Regions from separate parts of the Homo sapiens genome. Here regions 2, 3 and 4 are each linked to region 1. Evidence: promoter capture Hi-C in 16 types of primary human blood cells and fetal thymus (Javierre and others, 2016). All regions are on one chromosome and are shown on one strand. Each heading gives the region's core, a stretch centred on a gene start or on the middle of the fragment in contact. The rest is flanking DNA. Distances are from core to core; before and after follow the strand shown.

Evidence for each region. The method cuts DNA at HindIII sites, captures the fragments that hold promoters and counts their contacts. A CHiCAGO score of 5 or more calls a contact.
Region 2: a contact is called between the fragment with the promoter of HAUS1 here and the fragment with the promoter of SMAD2 in region 1, in 4 of 17 cell types (total CD4 T cells, naive CD4 T cells, naive B cells and 1 more). The highest score is 6.5, in total CD4 T cells.
Region 3: a contact is called between a fragment that was not itself captured here and the fragment with the promoter of SMAD2 in region 1, in 1 of 17 cell types (neutrophils). The highest score is 5.3, in neutrophils.
Region 4: a contact is called between a fragment that was not itself captured here and the fragment with the promoter of SMAD2 in region 1, in 1 of 17 cell types (fetal thymus). The highest score is 5.2, in fetal thymus.

The regions. Positions count from the first base shown.
Region 1 is chr18:47,929,288-47,932,103 of GRCh38, reverse strand. SMAD2 (SMAD family member 2) reads left to right here and starts at 1,445. Exons shown (of 11, transcript NM_005901.6): 1 at 1,445-1,743. RefSeq lists silencers at 527-1,456, 1,487-2,016. The HindIII fragment of the contact is 8,478 bases long and covers 1-2,816 here.
Region 2 is chr18:46,103,015-46,105,830 of GRCh38, reverse strand. HAUS1 (HAUS augmin like complex subunit 1) reads right to left here and starts at 1,446. Exons shown (of 9, transcript NM_138443.4): 1 at 1,390-1,446; 2 at 463-637. The coding sequence starts at 1,419. It also overlaps a transcript of ATP5F1A not described here. RefSeq lists an enhancer at 1,042-1,131 and a silencer at 1,522-1,621. The HindIII fragment of the contact is 1,925 bases long and covers 932-2,816 here.
Region 3 is chr18:49,507,916-49,510,731 of GRCh38, reverse strand. The region is part of intron 2 of LINC02837 (long intergenic non-protein coding RNA 2837); the gene reads right to left. Among named protein-coding and RNA genes, the nearest start is that of LINC02837, 9.9 kb to the right of the region's middle. The HindIII fragment of the contact is 3,198 bases long and covers 1-2,816 here.
Region 4 is chr18:49,482,182-49,484,997 of GRCh38, reverse strand. It overlaps C18orf32 (chromosome 18 open reading frame 32), which reads left to right. Exons shown (of 3, transcript NM_001035005.4): 2 at 1,227-1,414; 3 at 2,588-2,816. The coding sequence starts at 1,250. The coding sequence ends at 2,653. RPL17-C18orf32 (RPL17-C18orf32 readthrough) reads left to right here. Exons shown (of 7, transcript NM_001199356.2): 6 at 1,227-1,414; 7 at 2,588-2,816. The coding sequence ends at 1,406. Among named protein-coding and RNA genes, the nearest start is that of C18orf32, 3.6 kb to the left of the region's middle. The HindIII fragment of the contact is 270 bases long and covers 1,243-1,512 here.

The DNA.
Region 1 (2,816 bases), core at 196-2,695:
AGTTTCTTTTCAACTTTAGTTCTACGGTACTCCCTGCCTGTGTCACAGTGGGTGCATAGTAAACACCTGATGTGATTAGTTGGGCTCAATATTTTGTCAGCAGAGGCTTGGGTGTTCCTAAGGGTAACCGCAACAAGGTTTTCCCTGGGTGCAGTTATGTTCTGGGCAGCCGTAAGTTTAGGGCCTTGCTGCCTCCTGTAGGGCAGATGTGCAAGTTGGGGCCTAATCGTCGCAACAGTGGAGAAAAGGGGAAGGGAAGATATCCCAGCCATTAAGGGACATCGTGACAGATGTTTCTTTTAGACTTCACAAAGACCCTTCGGGACATGGATTATTGATATCATTTTTACTGAAGACGGAACCAAAATTTAGGTTAAACACTTATACCTGGCATCCCCTACCCGGGCCCTAAGTGCTCTCCAAAGACCCCACCTCTGGGCTTATTTACATCGCGAACCCGCCCTCGTTCAGCAACACGAGGGCCCCGCCCGCTCATTTGCATAGGGCGCGCCCAGTCACGGGCCGGGTCCTCGGGCTTCTCCCGAACCCCTTTTCTCTCTCAGGCGCGTCCTCCGCGCTGCGCGGGGCCTCCCCGTGGGATGAGCACGTGTCCGCTGCCGGCCTCACGACGGACGGTGGACGAGGCGGCAGGCCCCTACAGGCCCCACCCACGACGCTGGCGAGGGATCGGGCGGTCACCGGGAATCGTCTTAATGCGCGGCAAGGCGCGGGCCTCTCCCTCTCCGCCCGTGAGCCCCGGTGGGAGCGCGCCGGCGCCCAACTCAAGCGAAACCGCGGGCGTCCCGCCCCGCCCGGCCGCGCCCCGCCTCGCCTCACGCTAGACTGGGGAGGCGGGACCAATCAGCGAGCGACGTCTCCCTTCCGATTCGAGGCCCCCGATGCGCGGCTCACACCCCGAGCTTCCCTCGTGCTGATTGGCTGCGGGCGCCGCCGGTCCGGCCGGGAGGCGGGGCGGGCCGTAGGCAAAGGGAGGTGGGGAGGCGGTGGCCGGCGACTCCCCGCGCCCCGCTCGCCCCCCGGCCCTTCCCGCGGTGCTCGGCCTCGTTCCTTTCCTCCTCCGCTCCCTCCGTCTTCCATACCCGCCCCGCGCGGCTTTCGGCCGGCGTGCCTCGCGCCCTAACGGGCGGCTGGAGGCGCCAATCAGCGGGCGGCAGGGTGCCAGCCCCGGGGCTGCGCCGGCGAATCGGCGGGGCCCGCGGCCCAGGGTGGCAGGCGGGTCTACCCGCGCGGCCGCGGCGGCGGAGAAGCAGCTCGCCAGCCAGCAGCCCGCCAGCCGCCGGGAGGTGGGTGCGTGGCGCCGCGGCGGCCGGCGGCCGAGGGCGGAGGGCGGAAGCGGAGGTGGGCTGGCGGGGGAGGGCGCGGCCGTGCGGGCGGCCGGTAGGGCTGCGGGCGCGCGCCTGAGGGGAGGAGGGGCAGCGCGGGCGCGCGCGTCCTCACCCCCTCCTTCCCCGCGGGCGGCGGCCAGGCTCCCTCCCCTCCCCTTCCCTCTCCTCCCCTCCCCTCCCCTCTCTTCCCCTACCCTCCCGCGCGCCCGGGCCGCCGGCCGGGCCCGGGCCTGGGGGCGGGGCGGGAAGACGGCGGCCGGGAGTGTTTTCAGTTCCGCCTCCAATCGCCCATTCCCCTCTTCCCCTCCCAGCCCCCTCCATCCCATCGGAAGAGGAAGGAACAAAAGGTCCCGGACCCCCCGGATCTGACGGGGCGGGACCTGGCGCCACCTTGCAGGTAAAGCCTGGGCGCCCGCGGGCCTCCAGCTAGGGAAGTGTTTGCGTGCGTCCGCGGCCGGGGCGATGGGCCGTGTCACATGGCCGCTGCGGGTGGGGGCTGGGGTGTGGTGAGTTCGGGGGCTGTGGGTGCGCCGGCCCGGGCGTGCGGGTTCGGGGCCGGAGAGCCGGGAAGGGACGGGGCTCGGTTGCACTGCGCTGCCGCCCAGGCTGACGGGGGCGGGGGCTGCCTGCGTCCCTTCCCCTCGCTGCTCTCACACTCCATAGTTTGTGGTTCTGATTTTTAAAGCCGAAGGGCCAGAGCTCTTGTTTCAGGAGTTGTGGGGAAGCCTTGTTAGGGACGCGTAATACTTTGCCTCCACTTTTTTTTTTTGGTCTCGTAACCTTTGTTAACAGTGGTAGTCTCGGGTTTTCCATGGCTTGTGTGTACTCACAAACACGCACACAGCTGATAACTCTGTGATCATCCTTCACTCACTTGTGAAAGTTGTTCTGCGGGTGGAGCCTATTAGTTTTTATCACACGCCTTTGGAAAGCCCTCGAAGTGATTTCTCGTATTTCAAACTTGGTTTTTAAAATTGCAACTTACTTTGTTCTCTTGGAGGGGGATATTGTCTTTGGGTCAGGTACTTTTGTCTTTTACTTATCCTTAAAATGTCCTTTTGATCCTAAACAGAAAAAGAATGCCTGGGTTGGTTTTGTTATTCCTTTCTCTTGACCCTTTAAAAGCAAAATACCACCAGTGTGTTGTCAACCATACCTTTAAAAAAGAAATTTCCAGGTAAAACGAATTTGCAAGCAGCATTTTCCATCAAAGTCATGTCTTGTTTGTTGCAATTTGGACTATCTTAAATTTGGGTTTGTGAAACTTTTAAAACGACATGTGTAAAATAATTGTTAATAAATAAATAACTTGGAATAATTACATCTTTTTAGAAATGGTCTTTGAAATGTGATTTAATTTCCAAAATTCTTTTTCTCTCTTCTGACTTCATATGAATTGAACCTGATAGTTTCGTATGAATGAATCGCTGATAGGATGTTTTCCTTGAGCCTAGTAATAAATTTGCTCTT
Region 2 (2,816 bases), core at 197-2,696, 1.8 Mb after region 1:
GGCAGGCGGATCACCTGAAGTCAGGAGTTCGAGACCAGCCTGGCCAATATTGTGAAACCCTGTCTTTACTAAAACACAAAAATTAGCCGGGTGTGGTGGTGCAGGCCTGTAGTCCCAGCTACTTGGGAGGCTGAGGCATGAGAATCACTTGAACCCAGGAGATGGAGGTTGCAGTGAGCTGAGATCACACCACTGCACTCCAGCCTGGGCGACAGAGCAAGATTGTCTAAAATATATACACACACACACACACACACACACACACACACACACACACACATACATATACATATATATAAACATAAAACAATAAAGTTACTACTATAACAGAGTGGAAGAAAATCTGGGAAAAATAAAGGAGCAAAACAAGTAGTCTACAGTAAATTAATCCTGTATACTTTAGTGTTATAAAATTTGGTTACCTCTATTTATTCTCGTTCAAAACTCTGGACTTAATCTCACCTTCTGACTCGTATTCACTTGCTTTCTGCTTCAAGTCCTCTATTACCAGGTAGACATCCCTGTCCCGGACCCTGTTGCGTTCTGAAAGGTGATGTAAAATCTCTGTGGTCCGTGGGTTCACCTCATACTGTGGAATAGGATGATCTCCAAATATTTTTTTTAACCACGCAGCAACCTAACCATTAAAAGAAAGACAAATATTATAAGCCTTGTTTACTGTAATGGCTCGATGAGAATATGACAAAGAAGTGATCAAAAGCAAACTAAATGCTTTCTGTGACTATTTTGGAGTCCTACTTCACAACCTCACTTGTCTTTAGGGAGATACTAGATATCAGGAAATAAAAAGTGAGCAAGTACACAAAGAAACGTACAATACTGAAAATTACCAGAGAACAATCCGTTCTTTTCCAAATCTGCAAAAGCGGTACAGGCTAACAATTTGCCTCGCTTGAAAAACCTTAAAGCTTAATAGACCATAATAATGCGAACGCATTATTAGACCGTGCATGGTCTGAAAAAAGCAATTGTCCCTCGATCACCAGAAGCCCCGCCGCGCCGGGAGGCTCCCAGTGTTGGGATGCAGGGCGCGGAAGCAGTTCAGATGTGGAAGCCGCCGGGCTGAGCAGCGAACCGGAAGGCGGGTTTGGCTTCATAAGTCCCACTCCAGAGTCTGTGGACACGGGCTGCTCAACGCCTCTCCCGGGCCAGATCCAAACAAGGGGAGGCCCGGGCAGGAAGGGAAAGGCCTTCAGGAGAGTCTAAGCACGGGGGGCTTGCAGATAGTGACGGCGGCACTAAAAGACGGATGTGTGGAATAGGGGAGAGAAAAGTAGACGTGGCGCGCACAGGAGACCCGCTGTCGGCGCGGGGGTGTCAAAAACGCGTTTTCCAGGAGGCCAACGATCCCCATTCCCGCCCCATCACCTGCGTTTCTCTCTCCTCCTGCGGCTCCATAGCTGCGGCTCCCGCCACTTTACTAGGAACTCCTAGCGGGAGATGCGCCCCGCTCACTCCCTAGGCCCCGCCCACACGCCGTTGGCACCCGCCCCTCGCCGGGCCCGGGATTTCTGGGAGTTGTGGTTTTACCTGAGACTCCTGGCCGTTGAGCCCCTGTGCAAGGCTGGTCGAAGGCTCTGGCATTGCAAGCCTCGCTTCGTTGCCACTTCCCAGCTCTTCCCGCCTTCCGCGGTATAATCAACACTACGAGAGATAGAGCCGCCTAGAACCAGGTTGTTTTTTCTTTCTTTTATTTTTATTTCTTGTTTGAATCACTTGTCGTTAAAAAAAAGTACTTGAAACGTTTGGTTCTTGCTTAGCAAGATGTTTGTGTTTCTTCCACATTGATTGCATCCACTCAGAATTTATATTCTACCCTGGCAATATGAGCTGAGGCAATCTTAACTTGATCCGTTAGTTCCCCCAACCTAAAAACTAGGGACATTTTTTTTTTTTGAGACAGAGTCTCGCTTTGTCGCCCAGGCTGGAGTGCAGTGGCATGATCTCGGCTCACTGCAACCTCTGCCTCCTGGGTTCAAGCGATTCTTCTGTCTCAGCCTCCCAAGTAGCTGGGACTACGGGCAAGCGCCACCACGCCTGGCTAATTTTTGTGTTTTTAGTAGAGACGGGGTTTCACCATATTGGCCAGGCTGGTCTCGAACTCCTAACCTCATGATCCGCCCACCTCGGCCTCCCAAAGTGCTGGGATTACAGGCGTGAGCCAGCGCGCCCAGCTTTTTTTTTTTTTTTTTTTTTTTTGAGATGGAGTCTCTGTTGTTCAGGCTGGAGGGCAGTGGCACGATCTCGGCTCTCGGCTCTCAGCTCACTGCCACCTCTGCTTCCCGGGTTCAAGCGATTCTCCTGCCTCAGCCTTCCGAGTAGCTGGGATTACAGGTGTGCATCACCACGCCCAGCTAATTTTTTGTATCTTAGTAAAGATGGGATCTCATCAGGTTGGCCAGCTTGGTCTCGAACTCCTGACTTCAGGTGATCCGCCCGCCTTGGCCTCCCAAAGTGCTGGGATTACAGGCACTGCGCCCGACCTTTTCTTTTCTTTTTGAGATGGAGTGTTTCTCTGTCGCTTAGGCTGGAGTGCAGAGTGACATGATCTTGGCTCACTGCGACCTCCAACCCCCGTCCCCAGGCTCAAGCAATTCTCCTGTCTCATCCTCTCTAGTAGCTGGGATTACAGGCTTGTGCTAGCATGCAGGGATAATTTTTTTATTTTTAGTAGAACGGGGGGTTTCACCACGTTGATCAGGCTGGTCTCAAACTCCTGACCTCAAGTGATCTGCCTGCCTCGGCCTCTCAAAGAGCTAGGATTACAGGTGTGAGCCAACACACCCAGCCTAAAA
Region 3 (2,816 bases), core at 227-2,726, 1.6 Mb before region 1:
ATCCAAGACAAGTTTTCCCATAATTTTGGTATCCCTTTTCTGAAATTCTCTCCCATGACAGGCAGGTGTAATGGAAAGAAAGCAAACAGTGTCAGGCTCACCTAGCTCTATGCATAATGCATCCCCAACCACTTACTGCCTGTAGGGCCTTGGGCAAACTACCAAACTTCCCTGAGCCCCAAGTTCATCCTCTGTAAAACGTGGGTCGTACAATCCTCCTTACAAAGTGATTCTGGGAAATATGTGGGAGGAACCATACCCAGTGCTCAACATGCAAGTAGATGCTCACTAAATAATTAGCTGTATTTTCGTGTCTTCCCCTTTATCATCGTTCCATCCTATCTTCTCTCTGGGCTCCAGAATTACTTTCCATTACCTAAAATATTCATTGACACTAAGAAGCGTGAGACTGAATGTATTCCTCTCCCCAGGAACACAAAGGATTCATGCCAGGAGGCCTGGGGTTCCGTCCTGCTCCAGGTCTGCCATTTACTGGGTTAGTTAACCTTTCTCGTAACACAAAAATTGCGTTGTAAAGATTATTTGATTTAACAAATGCGAAGTAACTCACATAAAATAAGCATTCAGGCCGGGTGCAGTGGCTCATGCCTGTAATCCCAGCACTTTGGGAGGCCAAGGAGGGCGAATCACTTGAAGTCAGGAGTTCGAAACCAGTCTGGCCAACATGGCGAAACCCTGTTTCTACTTAAAAAAAAAAAATACAAAAATTAGCCGGGCATGCTGGCGTGCACTTGTAATTCCAGCTACTTGGGAGGCTGAGGCACTTGAATCTCTTGAGCCTGGGAGGCGAAGTTTGCAGTGAGCCGAGATCATGCCACTGCACTCCAGACTGGGAGATAGAGTGAGACTCTGTCTCAAAAAAAAAAAAAAGCATTCAATAAATATTAATATTCATTCCAGAAATAGATGAATTTTACAAGAGGAAAGATGGAAGGAGGCAACTCTAACATAATTAGTCACTGGTGGAATTTTAGAAATGAAGTCAGATATCCAGGCACGAATCGTATCTAACTGCATTGCCGACTCTACATAGGTATGTTAATCCCAGTCTCATTGTCCCCTTCAAGTTTTTAGAAGAGTATTTGTCACTGGGTATGTAGAGCAAATCAACTCTTTAATAATTGTTAGTACAAAGGAGTTAGCACGTTGAAAAGAAATGGAACATGGTGAAGAGGAGGACGGGGAAGCGGCTGACTGCACATATAGACAATGCTCACGCAGCTGAACCATCATTTATTGCCAGGGCATGGTGGTTACTCCTGACTCTGTCCATCACCCAGGGTCCCAGCTGGAAACAGAATTCGCCAAGTGTAGCTCAAGTGAAAAAAACCCTAATGAAGGGACTCCCAGTAGAGGCATAGATAGAGTTAAGGGAGCAAACAAACAAAGACTGGTCACCTTCCCTTGGATAGAGGAGGAAAGGAGAAGATGGAGCTACTAGAGCCCGGTGAGACCTGAAATCATAGAAGAAGACCACCATCGGGAGCAGGGATCATGGAGGAAACAACTAGTGTCAGATTCTCCATTGCAAGCAAGAGACAGCCCTGGACTTTGGAGATTTTTGTCTGTAGAATTTTCCCTTGTGTGTGTGATTAATTTGACTATTTTAAAAATTTTTTTAATTAACACATAATAATTATACATATTTATGGGGTACATAATGATGTTTTGATACACATCATGTATAGTGATCGGATAGATCAAGGTAATTCACATACCCATGATCTCAAACATTTATCATTTCTTTGTGTTGGGAACATTCAATATCCTCCCTCTAGCTATTTGAAACTATATATTATTGTTAACTATAGTCATCCTACAGTGGTAGAGAACATTAAACCTTATTCCTCTTATCTAGCTGTAATTTTGTATCCTTTAGCAAATCTCTCCCTATCCCTTTCCCTACCCTTCCAGCTTCTAGTATCCTCTGTTCTACTTTTTACTTCTATGAGATAAACTTTTTAGCTTCCACACATGAATGAGAATGTGCAGGATTTAACCTGCTGTTCTGGTTGGTTTTTTTTTGTTTTTTTTTTTTTTTTGGAGATGGAGTTTTGCTCGTCACCCAGGCTGGAGTGCAATGGTGCGATCTCAGCCCACCGCAACCTCTCACTCCTGGATTCAAGCAATTCTCCTGCCTCAGCCTCCTGAGTAGCTGGGATTACAGGCGACCGCCATCATGACCAGCTACTTTTTGTATTTTTAGTAGAGATGGGGTTTCAACATGTTGGCCAGGCTGGTCTTGAACTCCTGACCTCAGGTGATCTGCCCACCTCAGCCTCCCAAAGTGCTGGGATTACAGGCGTGAGCCACCGCGCCTGGCATCTGGCTTATTTCACTTAACATAATGTCCTCCAGTTCCAGCCATGTTGCCGCAAATGACAGAATTTCATTCACTTTTATGGCCGAATAGTATTCCATTTTGTATTTATATCACGATTTCTTTATACATTCATCTGTTGTTAAACACCTATGTCATTTCCATATCTTGGCTAGTGCAAATATTGCTGCAATAAACATGAGGATGCAGAGGTTTCTTCAATATACTGATCTCCTTTCCTTTGGGTAAATGCCCAGTAGTGGAATTGCTGGATCATATGATAGTTCTATTTGTAGTTTTTTAAGGATCCTCCATACAGTTCTCCATAGTGGCCATACTAGTTTACATTCCCAGCAGCAGTGCATAAGAATTCTCTTTTCTCTACATACTTGCTAGCATTTGTTAGCTTTTGTCTTTTTGATAATAGCAGTTCTAACTGGGAAGAGATGATACCTCGTTGTGGTTTTAATTTGCA
Region 4 (2,816 bases), core at 128-2,627, 1.6 Mb before region 1:
CAATTCTTCCCCCTCAGCCTCCCGAGTAGCTGGGATTACAGGCCTGCTCCACCATGGCTGGCTAATTTTGTGTTTTTAGTAGAGACGGGGTTTCACCATGTTGGTTAGGCTGGTCTCGAACTCCTGACCTCAGGTGATCTGCCCGCCTTGGCCTCCCAAAGTGCTGGGATTACAGGTGTGAGCCACCACACCCGGCTCATTTTTTAAACTCTAAATAGACATAGTAGCAAGGGTACCCAACCTCACTGATTGAGGATTAAATGAGTTGTTATATGTAAACTGTCTAGCACCTACCAAATGTTGTTGTTTTTCCTTTATAATCAAATTCATGATTAAGGAGCAGTGACTGGAAGTTTGGAAGCAGGCACCTCATTATTATTCATGCCTACCACCTATTATTTCTTTATTTTGAGATGGAGTCTTGCTCTGTCACCTAGGCTGGAGTGCAGTGGTGGGATCTCGGCTCACTGCAGCCTCTGCCTCCTGGGTTCAAGCAATTCTGCCTCAGCCTTCCGAGTAGCTGGGATTACAGGCGCATGCCACAACACCCCGCTGATTTTTGTATTTTTAGTAGAGACAGGGTTTCACCATGTTGGCCAGGCTGGTCTCGAACTCCTCACCTCATGATCCACCCGCCTTGGCCTCCCAAAGTGCTGGGATTACAGCCATGAGCCACTGCACCTGGCCTATTTCTTTACCTTGTAGATAGCAGCTTTTTATTTAATAAAGTCTTTTTTTTTTAGCAAATATAATAGTATGTTTTAAGTTTTTCCTACACTGTAGAAATAGTCCTTTCGTGTGTGTGTGTGTGTGTGTGTGTGTGTGTGTGTATATATATATATATATATATTTTTTTTTTTTCTTTTTTTGAGACAAAGTGTCTCTGTGTCATCCAGGCTGGAGAGCAGTGGCATGAACACGGCTCACTGCAGCCTCAACCTCCTGGGCTCTAGTGATCCTCTTGTCCCAGCCACTTATGTAGCTGGGACCACAGGAGTATGCCACCATGCCCAGCTAATTTTTTGATCTTGTAGAGACAAGGTCTCACTTTGTTGTGCAAGTTGGTTTCAAACTCCTGGGCTCAAGCTATCCTCTTGCCTCCCAAAGTGCTGGGATTACAGGCGTGAGCCACCACATCTATCCCCTTTCAGATATCTTAATCTTGGTAAATTCTTTCAGTTACTAATCTGTGATGAACTAATTTTTTTCTTCACATATATCAACAGTTGAGGAGCTCAAGCTTGGGAAAATGGTGTGCATTCCTTGTATCGTCATTCCAGTTCTGCTCTGGATCTACAAAAAATTCCTGGAGCCATATATATACCCTCTGGTTTCCCCCTTCGTTAGTCGTATATGGCCTAAGAAAGCAATACAAGAATCCAATGATACAAACAAAGGCAAAGTAAACTTTAAGGTAAGAACATTCACATGCCTTGAATAAGAGCAGTGAAAGGGGGTGGTACTTGGGTGAAACACTAGATTTTGGAAGGACAAGTTTTAGAACCAGAAGCTTCAATAGTTTGTGTAACATTTGGCTTAAATTAAAGTTTTAAAGTAGGCCTCTGATTAATGCATTTGTCCTTTGGCCAAAATGATAACCATATTTTCTGACTGGTAAGTGCAATGGTAAATAGCTAATGGATGAGGAGAGATTATGCTGATACAAACCAGTTTCACTGATTGATGACTTTGATAAGAGATTTAATTAGAAGGATCATAGAGATTTAAAAAAAAAACAATTTTTTTAAAAATGAGTGGACAACTCTGTTGTCTTTAGAATTGGTGCTTTTTTAGATTCAGCTTTGTACTCAGCTGCACTAATTTAGCCATCCGGCCCGTTTCTGGAAGCAAAATGTTTTCACTCTGGAGCTTGTCTGTTTTTAAAGAGAATGTTTCTTGAGCTGGGCGCGGTAGCTCACGCCTGTAATCCCAGCACTTGGGGAGGTCAAGATGGGTTGATCACCTGAGGTCAGGAGTTTGAGACCAGCCTGACCAACATGGTGAAATCCTGTTTCTACTAAAAATACCAAAATTAGTGAGGCGCGGTGGTGGGCACCTGTAATCTCAGCTACTCAGGAGGCTGAGGTGGGAGAATTGCTTGAACCTGGGTGGCAGAGGTTTCAGTGAGCCGAGATCACATCATTGCACTCCAGCCTGGGTGACAAGAATGAAACTCCATCTCAAAAAAAAAAAAAAAGAGAGAGACAGAATGTCTCTTAATATCTTTTTGTTGTAATAATTTCTTTCTTTTTTTTTTTTTGTTTTTGTTTTTGTGATGAAGTCTCGCTTTGTCACCAGGCTAGAGTGCAGTGGCATAATCTTGGCTCACCACAACTTCCGTCTCCCAGGTTCAAACGATTCTCCTGCCTCAGCCTCCTGAGTAGCTGGGATTATAGGCACATGCTACCATACCCAGCTAATTTTTGTATTTTTAGTAGGGACGGGGTTTCACCATGTCAGCCAGGATGGTCTCGATCTTCTGACCTCGTGATCTGCCTGCCTCAGCCTCCCAAAGTGCTGGGATTACAGGCATAAGCCACCGCACCCGGCTTGTTATGATAATTTCTAAAATGTTTTTTCATTTTAGGGTGCAGACATGAATGGATTACCAACAAAAGGACCAACAGAAATCTGTGATAAAAAGAAAGACTAAAGAAATTTTCCTAAAGGACCCCATCATTTAAAAAATGGACCTGATAATATGAAGCATCTTCCTTGTAATTGTCTCTGACCTTTTTATCTGAGACCGGAATTCAGGATAGGAGTCTAGATATTTACCTGATACTAATCAGGAAATATATGATATCCGTATTTAA